Regions from separate parts of the Homo sapiens genome. Here all the other regions are linked to region 3. The links are contacts of gene promoters, found by promoter capture Hi-C in human tissues and cell types (Jung and others, 2019). All regions are on one chromosome and are shown on one strand. Each heading gives the region's core, a stretch centred on a gene start or on the middle of the fragment in contact. The rest is flanking DNA. Distances are from core to core; before and after follow the strand shown.

The links. Contacts are between HindIII fragments. The study calls those that stand out against the background at their distance.
Region 1: a contact is called between a fragment that was not itself captured here and the fragment with the promoter of ST20-MTHFS in region 3, in 1 of the 25 tissues and cell types used here (lymphoblastoid cells).
Region 2: a fragment that was not itself captured here is called in contact with the fragment with the promoter of ST20-MTHFS in region 3 in 1 of the 25 tissues and cell types used here (pancreas).
Region 4: a fragment that was not itself captured here is called in contact with the fragment with the promoter of ST20-MTHFS in region 3 in 5 of the 25 tissues and cell types used here (H1 embryonic stem cells, IMR-90 fibroblasts, aorta and 2 more).

The regions. Positions count from the first base shown.
Region 1 is chr15:80,185,698-80,189,380 of GRCh38, forward strand. FAH (fumarylacetoacetate hydrolase) reads left to right here. Exons shown (of 14, transcript NM_000137.4): 14 at 433-652. The coding sequence ends at 512. Among named protein-coding and RNA genes, the nearest start is that of FAH, 35 kb to the left of the region's middle. RefSeq lists enhancers at 470-970, 3,636-3,683. The HindIII fragment of the contact is 5,416 bases long and covers 1-3,683 here.
Region 2 is chr15:79,600,242-79,603,850 of GRCh38, forward strand. No RefSeq gene overlaps it. Among named protein-coding and RNA genes, the nearest start is that of TRC-GCA5-1, 140 kb to the right of the region's middle. The HindIII fragment of the contact is 8,440 bases long and covers 1-3,609 here.
Region 3 is chr15:79,921,148-79,924,613 of GRCh38, forward strand. ST20-MTHFS (ST20-MTHFS readthrough) reads right to left here and starts at 1,945. Exons shown (of 4, transcript NM_001199760.2): 1 at 1,892-1,945. ST20 (suppressor of tumorigenicity 20) reads right to left here and starts at 2,605. Exons shown (of 3, transcript NR_037653.2): 1 at 2,305-2,605. It overlaps ST20-AS1 (ST20 antisense RNA 1), which reads left to right and starts at 1,624. Exons shown (of 1, transcript NR_028330.1): 1 at 1,624-3,466. RefSeq lists silencers at 1,763-1,872, 1,893-1,962, 1,973-2,022, 2,643-2,792 and enhancers at 2,323-2,502, 2,933-2,982, 3,184-3,466. The HindIII fragment of the contact is 9,290 bases long and covers 1-3,466 here.
Region 4 is chr15:79,425,971-79,429,171 of GRCh38, forward strand. It overlaps a transcript of MINAR1 not described here. Among named protein-coding and RNA genes, the nearest start is that of MINAR1, 4.8 kb to the right of the region's middle. The HindIII fragment of the contact is 7,124 bases long and covers 1-3,201 here.

The DNA.
Region 1 (3,683 bases), core at 445-2,944, 260 kb after region 3:
AAAAACATCAGATCTCATGAGACTTCTTCACTACCATGAGAACAGTATGGAGGAAACCGCTCCATGATTCAATTATCTCCCACTGTGTACCTCCCACAACACATGGGAATTATGGGAGCTATAATTCAAAATGAGGTTTGGCGGGGGACAGAGCCAAACCATATTAGCCACAGGAAAGCTGTTGAGCCTTGCAGTGCCTCTGAGGATCCCTGGCTGTGGGGTGGGCCCGGGTTCTAGTCCAAGGGCTCCTGCGTGCAACTCTGCCCAGCTTCCGTGGAGGGTTATTCTTGTGTTTAAGATATGTGTGTGTGATTCTGATGGCACCTTCCTGCCTCGGGCCAGCTGTGTGCTGACGGGCACTGCCGCTGCCTAGGTGTTGGTTCCGGTGAGCCCAGCAACTTTGTGACTGATCCTTGTCCTCCTCTGTTCCAGGGTACTGCCAGGGGGATGGTTACCGCATCGGCTTTGGCCAGTGTGCTGGAAAAGTGCTGCCTGCTCTCCTGCCATCATGAGATTTTCTCTGCTCTTCTGGAAACAAAGGGCTCAAGCACCCCTTTCAACCCTGTGACTGGGGTCCTCCCTCGGGCTGTAGGCCTGGTCCGCCATTCAGTGACAAATAAAGCCATTGTGCTCTGAGGCCTGCACTGCCGCAGATGCAGCTGTGTCCACTTATGATCGTGATTTGATCCAGTGGGTCAAGGTGTGTAAAGCCTCCCTGCCAGATATTCATTAATATGTTTTCTCACTCTTATTAGTGAGGTCAGGGGTCTTTGTGGGATTTTCTTATTAGACATCCCAGGCCTCCTGGTATTCCATGGAATTTGAAAAGAGACTGGCACCTGTAGTAGTCAGGGCTCTCCAGAGAAATAGAACCAAGGAGAAAGAGATCGATTTATTGATTGATTGATTGATTTTAAGCAAATTGGCTTCTGGGATTCTGGAGGGTGGCAAGCCCAAAACCTGCTGGGTGGGTTGCTGGCTGGAGACCCAAGGAAGAGCTGCAGTTTGAGTCTGAAGCAGTCTGCTGTCAAAATTTCCTCTTCCTCTGGGAAGTGAGTCATTGTTTGGTGAAGGCCATCAACTGATTAGATGAGGCCCAGCCACACTGTGGGGGTCTTCTGCTTTACTCCACTGATTTAAGTTTTATTTCACCTAAAAAGTACTTTCTTAGAAACATGTAGAATAGCATTTGAGCAAATATTTGGGTACCTTAGTCTAGCCAAATTAATACAGAAAACTGCCCATCACAGCACCCTGCATGTCCAGTGTTTCTTGGGGCTAACGGATGAGCACATATGGGTTGTAGGCTTGGTTCATGGGCCCCGTGGCTGCGTCTCCACACTGTAAGCCTTGGGAAGAGCCTCCGAGTCATGGGTGAGCACCTGAACTGTGATGATGGCAGAAAAGGACCTAGCTTTTCACCTCTTGCAAGCCCACCAGAGTCAGGAGAGTGAGCTCTGCCCCATCTCTTCTGTCCCAACCCATTGCACACAGGCAGCCCTGGTTCTACCCTAGTTCCTTGGTGATGACAGCAGGGGAGTATGCCCTGCGACCTTTCCTGGGCCTGATGAGCCTTATACCGGGGCCTAGGGGGATAGTTGAGGATGCAGAGCCCATCCGTCAGATCGCACCATTCATTCATTCACTCAACAAATCTTTATTGAGCACCTTCTGTGTGTTAAGCACTGTTCTAAGGATGAGAGGCACAGCAGTAAACAGAATAGCCCATTTGAAGCTTACATTCGAGTGGAAAGAGATAGACAATAAACAGATAAGGAAAAGACATGTGGTATGACAGATGGTAATAAGTTTTATGGACAATTGGGAGATGTGGATGCTATTGTTAATGTGGTTAGAGAAGGCCTTAATCCCATAGTACATTTCTGCTAGAGAGCTGAAGGAGTGAGGGGAGCAGGCCAGATGGATATCTGGGGACAGAGTCCTCCAGGCACAGGAATCAGCCCGTGCAAAGCCCTGAGGATGGAATATGCTTATCATTTCTAAAGAACATCAAGGAGGCTGGTATTTCTTCCTTACATAAAAGCAACCTGGGGTCAGGAAGGCTGGAGTTAGTGTGGCAGCTGCACAGTGTCATTAAAGATACCTCTGCTCTGCCATCGTCGGTATGTGGTTTTTAGTCTCAGGGTTACATTATGATACAAAATGGCTGCTGGAGCTCCAACTAGTACATCTAAGTTCCAGGCCAGCAGAAAGAGACAACAAAGAGGTGAGGACTGGGAGGATGGAAGGGCAGAAGAGCCCTCCTTCCTCCTGAGTTAGGTCATTTTAAGCAGCTTTCCTGGTAGTCCCATACCACACATGTCTTAGATTTCATTGATGAGACACACCTCATTACAAGAAAGCCTGGAAATGTAGTCTTTCATCTAAACACATTGCTTGCCCTGTGAAAATTAGTTTGATTGCCCTAAAAGAAGGGGAGAATGGATACTGGGGGACAATTAGTAGTCTCTGCTACACACAGGCTGGGAAATATCATGCTCTGAGGCTGAACTGCTCCCCGTGGACTTTACTTCCTAGAGCTATGCTCTAGGGCCATATTCTCCAGTGCTTTGCTGATTTCAGTGGAAATGCTGTATAGGGCAGATGTCAGCAGGATCTCCCAGATGCTACTTTCCAGATCAGTGATGCAAACACTTCTCTGAATTTGGAAGACCAAAGCCTTCCCCAGGATTTTTCTGAATTCCTGGGGCTTATGTTCCCAGGGCTACATCTGCTTCTGTTGACTCAGCTAAAACCCCTGCTCTCTAGGCTGTGTTCTGAGATTGTTCCTAAACCCTTCTCTCCTTGTTCCTAAAGCCTTCTCTCCCGGCATCAACCCACAGGAGTGACTCATCTTTTTCTCAAAGCCCTCACCTGCACATGGATAAAAGGCCCTCGTGCTCTGCACAGTAGGGCTTTACTGGAGATCTCTGGGTCACAGGCAAAGGTCACTTAAAATCATTGTTAATCCACTTGTTCCCACTGGCACCAGAGAATGCTGGTGTCATCAGTAGAGATCACACGCTTATCCCCTTGTTGGGCATTTAATGCACTTAAAGGGCTTGGTGATGTTGGGAAAACCCAATGGACCTGCCCCAGAGTCTGAAACACACACAGGGCAGAAAGAGCCAGAAACGTTCCTGGCATCAGATTCACTTAAGAAACCAAACTCATGGATGTTAATTCTGGGTCCAGCCTGGGCTTTACTTGGCAATTACTTTTCCTTAATCTTCAGCGACAAGAGCCTCTTTGTTTTACTGTCTCCGACTCCAGAAATGCTCACTGCCAGCCCCACATGACAAGTGACTTTAATGGTCTTTAGTTTTGGAGATCTACTTTATTGAAACCTATCTGTGTGTAATAATATGAAATAGACAAGAATGACTTTCAGGGTCAAATTTCCTCTTTTTGACAGTGATATTTTAAGGACTAGAAGCATTTTGACCAGATGAATGGAGCTTTCAGACGGGATGATGAGCATCTCAAGGCAGGTTGGCCATAGTTATCACTATATCTTCCTTATTAATTTGTATTCCATTTATGCTTCCTGTTTTTAACCAGTGGTCCATTCGGAATATGAATGGATGACTGTGAAACTGAGAGTAGAGTTCATTTGAAACTTTACCTGACCAGGAGGAGTCAGTCCAGAGGTGTTTCTGGCAAGATGGGGCCCACTGCTGGTT
Region 2 (3,609 bases), core at 216-2,715, 320 kb before region 3:
CATTGGGAGCCACGGTTTGGGAAATGAGAGTCGTAGATAGTGGGTGAAGCCACAACGGTAGGTACATAGATTGGCCCAGGTGTGTGCATTGACAAGAGGACAGTCAAGGAGAGAACCCTGGTGATACCCGCTCTTCATACCTCTTTAAGCCACCTGAACCTACACTTATACTATACTGCACATGGCCACCAAAGCAGAGTGTAGCCTTTATGCCTCATTTTTGGTCATGACTAAGGACCTGCCTCACCTTCTTGTTGACCTTGTTTAACAAGCAAGATGCATTAATTGAACAATTACTTAGTGAATGGCACTGTGGCTACAGAAAGACAAAGAAATCATTGGCTTTGGGACCTTGGAGTTGGATAATTCCACCTAGCTCCCATCCTTGTCTCTCCTCTTCTGCCCCACGCCTGCCCTTCAGACTGGCTTCTAAGGACTTATATGATGTAGGCTTGTTTCACTTGTCTTTTCCCTCTCCTGGCCATCTTGGTTAAGACCCCAACCCTGATTCAGAGCCCCAGAATCTAAATGTGTGAGTTGCTCTGTCTAGCTGTTGGAGGACTTTTAGAGAGATCGTAAAATGTATTTATGTTGTGAGTAGAAGAAAAGAAATGTGAAAACCTGCCCCCCCCCCAAAAAAAAAAAGTACTCTGAGAGATAGGAGGAAAACCAAGAGTCCATATAAGTCAAAATAGAAAAGCACTTCAAGGAGATTAATCAGTGAGATCCAGTGTCTCATGAGGTCCAGGAAGGCAGCCACAGGATCCGGCCATCCAGGACGTCATTGTCTTCTGGAAGATGTGATGAGCACAAAAGCTGCATTCAAGCGACTCAAGAAGCAAATAGGTGAACTAAAGGACCCATGTATAAACATCTCCTCCTAGAAGTACCATGCTGAAATAAAGGGTAAAAGAAGACCACGGATAAAGGGAAGGCGGCAAAAGAAAACTTTCCAGATGAGGGAAGTGGGAGCATATTGTGCTCAAGAGGAATAGTCAAGAGAAAGGTTAAGTTGAAAACACAGAAGGTGTGAGGGAGTGAGGTCTCTGAGAAGGCAGGAGGGATGGAATCCAGAGCCCAGGTGAGTCCCTGAGCAAGAGCAACGGCACCGAGGCTGGAAGGGAAGGAAAGGGGGATGGTGTATCCATTTCCTACAGCTGCTGTAATAAAGTGCCACAAATTAGGTAGCTTCAAACAGCAGAGATTTATTGTCTCACAGTTCTGGAGGCCAGAAATCAAGGTGTCAGCTGGGCCATGCCCTCCCCAGGCTGCAGAGGAGAATCTGTTCCATGCTCTTCTCTCAGCCTCTGGTGTCACTGCCAATCCTGGGTGGCTTGTCATTGCCTATTTCCAATCTCTACCTGCATTATCACATGGTCTCCTCTCCTCCTGTGTTCAGATCTCTCCTTTGCGTAAGGACAGCCGTCATATTGGATTAAGAGGCCACCCTACTCCTGCATGACTTCATTTTAATTTAGTTAATTACATCTGCAGTAATCCTACTTCCAAATGAGGTCACATTGGAAGGTATTGAGGGTTAGGATTTCAACATCTCTTTTTTTTTGTCGGGGGAGAGGGACACGATTCAATCCATTACAGATGGTATGTTTACTTTTCAGGGAAATCAGTGGCTGCAGTTGGGAGGGATGGTGATACACAGAGAAGTGATTTCATTCCAAGGGCAATGGCTATTTCTTTGTCACTGTCTTCCCAGCCCCTGGCCTGTGGGCGCGTGCTGGAGTACTATTCTGATAGTAACCTACATGCGGGTCATTTCCTATAATTCCCTTTTGCCCCATGACCCTCCCTGTAATTCCAGGCAGAGCTCATCAGTCTGCCCTTGCTGTATCCAGAAGCTGAGCAACAGAGAGAAAAAACGTCAATTCTCAGTTTTGACTTTCAAATTAGACTTTTGAAATTCCCAATGGAGGCAATATTGGTGAGAACGGGATTGTGAGTTCCACAGAATCACTAGAGTTTATGCCATAAACAAGAATGGGAAGGATAAATCATTTGTTAATCAAAGAACCCATATTCCAGCTGTAGACTTGATTAAGATTACACCACAGGCTGGAAAGGAGAAGATGGTTGGAGAGGAATTGAGAGAGACAGTGAGGAGGAGGAGCTGTGCACCTGCTCCCAAGGCCAGCTCAGTCTCCGGGCTCTGGAGCCGCCACCTCCCCCAGAGCATCTCCACTGTCATCAGATGTACAGATTGGGCAGCCATGTATGATCAGGACGGAAGCAACCTCCTACTGCTACAAATAATAACAATAATTATAATGAAGGTTGAAAACCACTGACCAAGGCTAGATGGGGTTTCTAAGGTCCATAGAGGGGTGGATATTTGTTGACAGAAGAGCCAGGACAAGCAGGTTTTCTGATTTCTGAGAATGGTGACTGCCTCCTTAACAGGGGCAGCAAGAATGGGGAATATTGGGTTAGAGCACATTCCAATGGCAAAAAATTAACTTGTTTCTTTTGTATCCAGATTTGAAAAAAAAGCTCTAAGGAAGCCAAAATCTTTAATGCAATCTTCCCTCTCTTTTGACTGGCCTACTGACCAAAGACAGGAAAGAATTCCACTGGGAAGACTAATGTTTATTTTTAGTAACAGATAATATGTGTTGAATGCCTAGTGTGTGACAGGTGCTGTGCTAAGCATTTCATATACATTAGCACTTTTAACACTCAAATACTCCAATAATGAAGGCATCATTCCCCTTTTAGAAATGAGCATGCAGAGTCAGAGTAGAAAACCAACTTGCTGAAGGTCACATAGCAGTGAACAGCTGTACAGCAGCATTTAAACCCAGGAATCTGTTGGAAACTCAAGTGGCACTTCTAATCACTATACCATACTGCCTCTCTATATAACACACATTTGTTTTTCCTTGAAAGTTTCCTTGTGATAACTAGAAAGAAACGTGGAGAAATGAATTGCCATTGAAGACCTACTATGTGCCAGGCATTGTGCATTTTGCATATATTATCTCCTTTGCAGTGCTCAGAAATTCCATCTGTCACTAACTTCAATCTTCCTGGAAGAGAGCTTAGGTTTCAGAAAAAGCACCAGATTGGTCTACGGCTCAGTGATTTCCCTCAATTTACACCTAATGAAACTCATATAACTAATTCTGCCACTCCAATGCTCAGAAAATTACACTGGTTCCCCCTTTCAAGTTATAAAATAAAGTCCAAGTTCCTAATCTGGCTTTCAAGGCTCCCGCGACCTGTGTAGTCTATTTCTCCAACATTATTTTAGTACATGTTCCTGACCCCTGATAACCTGAATTAAGATCTCTCTTCTGACCTGCACACATTTATCTGTGTTTCCCATGACATTATCATGTTCAAACTTGCCTATAGCTAGTTCTGTGTAGGAGTCACCTTTCCACCAGCTGTGGGACATCTTGAGGGCCAGTTCTGTGTTTCACCTCGCAGTGTCTAGCATGTGGCAAAAGCTCAGTGAATTTTAAAAAATAAATAAATAAAAGATACTGTTCTTGATTCATGGGAAGAGGGCAAAGTAGAATAAAAGATCCCTGGGCTAGGGACACTTTCACTATAAGTAAGCCCCAACGATGGAGAGATCATGTAGCTTACCTG
Region 3 (3,466 bases), core at 695-3,194:
AAAATTAGCTGGGCATGGGGGTGGGCACCTGCAGTCCCAGCTACTTGGGAGGCTGGGGCAGAAGAATTGCTTGAACCTGGGAGGCGGAGGTTGCAGTGAGCTGAGATCATGCCACTGCACTCCAGCCAGGGCAACAGAGCGAGACTCCGTCTCAAAAAAAAAAAAAAATAGTAAATAAAAAATAAAGGTTTGTCACCATATACTCAAGAGTACTTCTGTTATTCAAATCTCCTAACTGGGAGTTACAAATATCTCTGACTCTGCTCTTGTAGCTGTCAGAGCATAAAATGCCCTTCCCACTCTTTCCTCACTTCCAGACTCCAAAGCCTCCTCCTCAAAGTTTGGCCCCTCTACTTTGGACTACTGTTTTCTTCCCAGTTACTGCGCACTGACAGTACTTTTGTTCTCTCTTTCGGCAATTCACCATACACTTTCTAGTTTATTTATCTGCATAAAACTTAGTTCTCAACAAGACTATAACTGCCTTATGAACAGGAATCAACAGTTGAGAATCTTCAGAGTCTCCTATAACATCATGTAAGAGCTCACTAAATGTTTGATTTAAATAACTAGGCTTAAGAGTAATAGGCTGGGCATGGTGGCTCATGCCTGTAATCCCAGCTCTTTGGAAGGCCGAGGCGGGAGGATCACGAGGTCAGATCGAGGCCATCCTGGCTAACACGGTGAAACCCGTCTCTTCTAAAAATACGAAAACAAAAAATTAGCAGGGAGTGGTGGCCAGTGCCTGTAGTCCCAACTACTCGGGAGGCTGAGGCAGGAGAACGGTGTGAACCCAGGAGGCGGAGCTTGCAGTAAGCCAAGATCTCAACAGTGCTAAATGCATACATGGATTATCTTACTAAATTTTCATAACTCTATAGAGGTAAGTGCTATCATTATTTTCTCCATCATAGAGGAAGAAAGTGAAGCTCAGAATAACTTGCTCAAGGTCATACAGGCCTGGGCAAACCCAGGGCCTGAATCCAGCAAAGCTCTTAACTACCTCAGAACACTGCACAGTTCGAGCCCTGCAATACTACAGTCTATGAATGATTTCGATTTCACTAAGTTAGAAATTTGAATTTCAACAGAGACATTTTAGCTAAAAGGTAAAATTTTAAAGAGGATGAATTAAGAGAATTTCCCACAGACATCTTTATAATAAAATGAGGAGAAAAGCCTCCCATTTCCTATTTATGAAAGTGATATTAAGGTGTGTGTCACAATTTCATCAAGAAGTGGCTTATGACAATACAGCTTTGGTTTAGGTATTAAAATAGGACTCTTTTCTGCCCATAGGAGGACATGGAAATGAAGGATAGATGTGATAAATGTCAATTCAGAGCTCTGCAAAATGCCAGACTCAATTCTTGTTTTAAAATATCAGAGCCAGGGCTCTTGTTTCACCCTTGATTCTTCACACAAAACACCACCATCCTCTGACCTCTTCACACAGAGCAAGCTTTACCCCACTACCTAAAGGGGAGTGCTGATCCACATGGTCTCCCCATCCACGCTAGAAATTGATCCCAAACACCAACCGCTGCATAGACGTCGGCGACTTTGGTCTGCACCCCCCGAACTTGGTGATACCTCATCAAGCCAAACCCCTCCCCAACATCCAAAATGCCCAGACCAGCATCCGAAAGCTGGTCTCCTATACAAAGCAGAATCCCTGCCTACAAAGCAGTTTCCCACCTCCGACTCCTCCCCACGGCGAACAGCCCTTCTGGATCCAACCAACCCACCAACCCCAATAGGGCCCAGCACCCAGAGGGTCCACAATCCAGAGAAGGAGCTACAAGCCCTGTACTTGCAAGCCTCGAACCCCCAACTCCAACTGACCTCCCCTCTGCCAGAGCAAGACCACGAGTACCCGCCGAGAGCGGACCTGGCTGGCTACACAAAGCCAGGCGCCCGACCAGAGGGATCCTCCGGGACGTCCTCCGCCACCGGGGCGTCCCCGCCCAGCCCCGCCCGGCGCCCGGCGCTCACCAGCTCTCCTCCCCCTCCTCCTAGCCTGACAGACGCTCCAGGTCGTCTAGCAAGCCGCCCTCCCCCGCCGCCAGCAAGAAGGTGGCGTCTCGCAGCTCCTCGTTATTCGTCCGCCTCGGGTCCATCCGGCCCCGCCGCCCGACTTTGCGCTGAGACCCAAGGGGAAGCCCCGAGGGGACCCCGCGCCGTAGGAGGGAGTGGAGGAGCCGGCGAACCGCGATGGAGCCGGGGCCCAGCACAGCGCGAGCGGCTCCTCGGCTGTTCGTGCTGCTTCCCCAGCTTCTTCACCGGCACCTGCAGCTTCCGCACCTCCTGGTCCGCGTTCACGTTAGAGTTAACGTCCTCCATCCCGGCCCCGCTGCCTCCGCCGCCCGCGGCCCTCTCGCTCTCGCAGCAACAAGGGAAGAGCCGGAGGAAAGAGGCGTCCACGCCGCTCACTCCAGCCGAGGCCCCCGCATATAGCAGGGCCAGGCCCCGTCGCCAGGGTTCCCCCAGCGCGGGTCCCGAAGCACCGCTGGCCACAGATGAACCGCCTCCTCAGCGCAGGTCCGGGATTCGGGGAGGCAGCGCCAATATCCGGTCTCTGCAGCCATCTTCCCTCCGTCCCTCCGCCCACCGAGGGTCGGCCCTGTAGGTGACCTCAGAGCGTCGGGGATGGGCGTGGCCCCGTCGGGCGCTAAGAAGACCTAGCGCAGAGAGGACCGCCGAGCTCCCGACGGGGCGGGGCCAGGTGTGTGAGGGGCGGGGATTGGACCCGGAGGGGCGTGTCTGGACTGCCGGCGGAAGTGGAACGCGGCCTGACCTGCGACGGAAAGCCACTGCAAGCCCGGAGGCGAACAGAAGGCATTCCGCGAGCCGGGCTGAGTTGGTGAACACGGTCCTCGTTCACCCCGCCTATTGGTCTGGGCGTGTGGGGTATTCTCCACCCACTTATACGGCGTGTGGGACCGACGGGCCCGTCCTGCCCGGCTCCGGTCCGGATCTCGAGTAGGCGCTCAATGGGATTCGGGGAGACGTAGTTTACTTTGTTCAGCAAATATTTAACCGATGCCTATTTTAATGGGAGATTGTTTCCGCTGGCGGGAGCCTCAGAGACCGCCTGTGTCCTTTAAGAAACCCGAATTTCAGACAGTTAAGAGAGGTCTAAGGTCAAAATAATAATCATAATTTCTTCTTACTGGCCAGATACTATGCTAAGCCCTTTTTAATTTTATTATTATTATATTTTGTCACCGAGGCTGGAGTGCAATGGCCCGATCTTGGCTCTGCAACCTCCGCCTCCCGGTTTAAAGCGATTCTCCTGCCTCAGCCTCCCGAGTAACTGGGATTACAGGCGGGCGCCACCACGCCTCGCTGATTTTTGTATTTTAGTAGAGACGGGGTTTCGCCATTTTGGCCAGGCTGGTCTCGACCCTGACCTCAGGGTGATCCGCTCACCTCAGCCACTCAAAAGTGCTGGGATTACTGGCGT
Region 4 (3,201 bases), core at 226-2,725, 500 kb before region 3:
ACTTCCAGGGCATGATCATTTCCAAGAGTCAAAAGCCAATCTCTCATGCACCAGTCAGGACTCTGGGTTGCCAACATCAGACACTGACTCTGGCGTGCTTGGAGAGTGAAGGAATCTACTGAACGGATATCAGGAGCTGACAGAATCAGTGGTGGGGCCAGAGAATCAGTATCGGAAAATATGCATGCAGGAACTGAAGGAAACTGGGGGAGTTGGGGGGCTGGAATCACTGCCAAGGTCGTGCCACAGGAAGAGGCTGTTTAGGCTCTGTTGCTCCCACTACTGGACTCAGACCATTGTACCCTGGATGCCACTACCACTAGGGGTGGGACGATTTTCAGACTGTCACCAGATTCTTTCACATCGTCCCTGGCTTCAGATTCACAGCCTCAGGCAAAAGCATTGGGTTGGCCAAGCTCGGGCCACTTGCCCGTGCCCATGCTGTCAAGGTTCAGGAGAAGAGAGGCTCTTGAAATTTCACTATGGCAGCTTCCATTGAAATAGGGAGAGAATTTGGAATCTGGGCAGCCAAATAACAAAAAACGAATATCCTCTGCATCTGCCAAACAGGCCACCACAGCAGCCTCTGCTTGGAAAGGCCATTTGCAAAGCAGGAGAGTAGAATTCAGTGGAGCATGGATTAACTCAAGCTGTAGTATGCTCAGCCTGGCTCCCTGGGACCAGCCTTCTGAAGGGGACCATGGGTACTGCTATACTCACCTTCGTCTAGAGAGGCCCCTAGTCTCCAGCCTGACTCAAGGAAGCTCCTAGACAGCATAGAGATGCTCTGAACTCCAGGCCGTATTTTAGGAAATTTAGGAAGTAACCCTTTGTGAGCACTGGGCTGCATTCAGAAGAACTCAGTTCTAGTTTCAGATTCATTTATAATTCACAGCATCACTTAGAAGTTTATAATTCCTACCATTTGTCCCAGCAATCCATTATTGGGTATAGACCCAAAGGCAAATAAATAGTTCTACCATAAAGACACATGCACACGTATGTTCATTGCAGCACTATTCACAATAGCAAAGACATGAAATCAACCTAAATGCCCATCAATAGTAGACTGGATAAAAAAATGTGGTACATATGCACCATGGAATACTATGCAGCCATGAAAAAACAAGATCATGTCCTTTGCAGGGACATGGATGGAGCTGAAGGCCATTATCCTTAGCAAACTAATGTGGGAACAGAAAACCAAATAATGCATGTTCTCACTTATAAATGGGAGCTAAATGATGAGAACTCATGGACACGAAGAAGGGAACAATGGAGGCTGGGGCCTACTGGAGGGTGGAGGATGGGAGGAGGTAGAGGATCAGGAAAAATAATGAGTACTAGGCCTAATACCTGGATGACAAAATAATCTGTACAACAAACCCTCATGACACGAGTTTACCTATATAACAAACCTGCATATGTACCCCTGAACCTAAAATAAAAGTTAAAAAATCAGAAGTTTACCATTCCTTCTGGATCTCATTTTTATGATTGGCAATCTGCTACTATCAATCTCTACCCATTTAACTCACAACAAAGTGTTAAGAGCTGGGGAGTGGCTCTATATTCCACTTCACTCCAAATTTGTGTCTCATAAACCTATTGTTGTAGCTAAAGTCCTGCCACTCGTGGAATTCCTCTGGGAACAGATATTATATCAAAAAGTGTTTCCCTAGGAAGTGAAGTAGAGGTTAGAAGCTACTGTTCTACTGCCTGAAAATTATATCTTAAATGATCTCTGAGATTTATTTGTGCATGACATATATCCTTTTAAGTGCTTATATAAGATACAGGACAACTGAGGCTTAATAGAATGAGATCTAAAAAACTCTGGGTTCAGGGTGAAGTCACTAAGTGCTGTCCTGGCAGGTGACAACCCTGGAGTACCCAGGAGAAATACAGATACAGGATTCTTGGGCAGCTCAGAGGAGAATCAGAGAGGGAGCTGCTAAGCACTAATCACGGGGTACCCATGCCAATGACATGATTGTAAAAATGTGTACTGCTTGCCGTTTTGTCGGCCAGCAAAGCAACATCTTCTCTCAGGATCCAAAAGGAGATTACAGCTCAGCCTTTCAGCCCAGAGGAGGAAACAGTTTTCCCGTGCCCAATTCCTTGTTCACTGGTACATTCAAGCTTATGCCTAGATGCCAAGATGAAAGTCCTTCCTTCCTTCCTTCCTTCTCTCCCTCCTTCCTTCCTCCCTCCCTCCCCTCCCTCTCTTCTTCCCTTCTTTCCTTCCTTTATTCCCCCTCCCTCCCTCCTCTCCCTCCCTCCTTCCCTCCTTCCTTTCTTCTCCCTCTCTCCCTCCCTCCCTCCTTCCTTCTTCTCTCCCTTCCTTCCTCCCTCCCTCCTCTACCTCCCCCATCCCTCCTTGCCTCCTTTTCTTCTTTCTTCCCCTTCCCTCCCTCCTCTCCCTCTCTCCCTCCCTCCCTCCTTCCTTCATTCTTTCCTTCCTTTCTTCCCCTTTCCTCCCTCCCTCCTTCCCTCCCTCTTTCCCTCCTTTCTTCCCCCTCCCTCCCTCCTTCCTCCTTCCCTCCTTCCCTCCCTTTTCTTCCTTCCTTTTGTTTTTTCTTTCAGCCTGCCATTTTCAGTCACAAACTTTTGCGGAATACCTGTTATGAGGCTTCCACTTTCCATTTATCTCATCTTCCCAAAAACTCTATGAAATCTCTTATTACACTTTTATAGATGATAAAACTGAAGCTCAAGAGAGGTTAAGAAACTATCTCAAGTTTACCTAGATAGTAGGTGAGCTGGAGACAAAATCTTTATATAATGATGCTATATCCAGTGCCCTTTTCTAATAGTTCAATACATCTAAAATGTACCACAGGAGATCTGATTATGATGGATTAAAAAGTATTAATGTGTCAGTGGTCACAGTCTTCTCCCCTACCTCTATCACTAAAGAGAATTCTGATTTTGCCCACAGTTTTCCTTTCCCCTTCCCTCCCCTAAAGACAGGAGAGAGAAAATGCATAGCTCTACACAATGCAGAAAAGTAGAGAGGAGGTAGGAAAGGAGAGATGAAGAAAGATGTGTGTTATGTATTTAGAGAGAATTTGGGGGGCACTGGAGAAAGAGGAGCTTTAAAGCAGCTGAGATAAGAAGGGCTTAGAGAGAGAGGAGGATGTTAGTCTCTAAGAAGTTCAAATGAAGGATTTGATTAATGATACATTTCTCTTGGCTGCT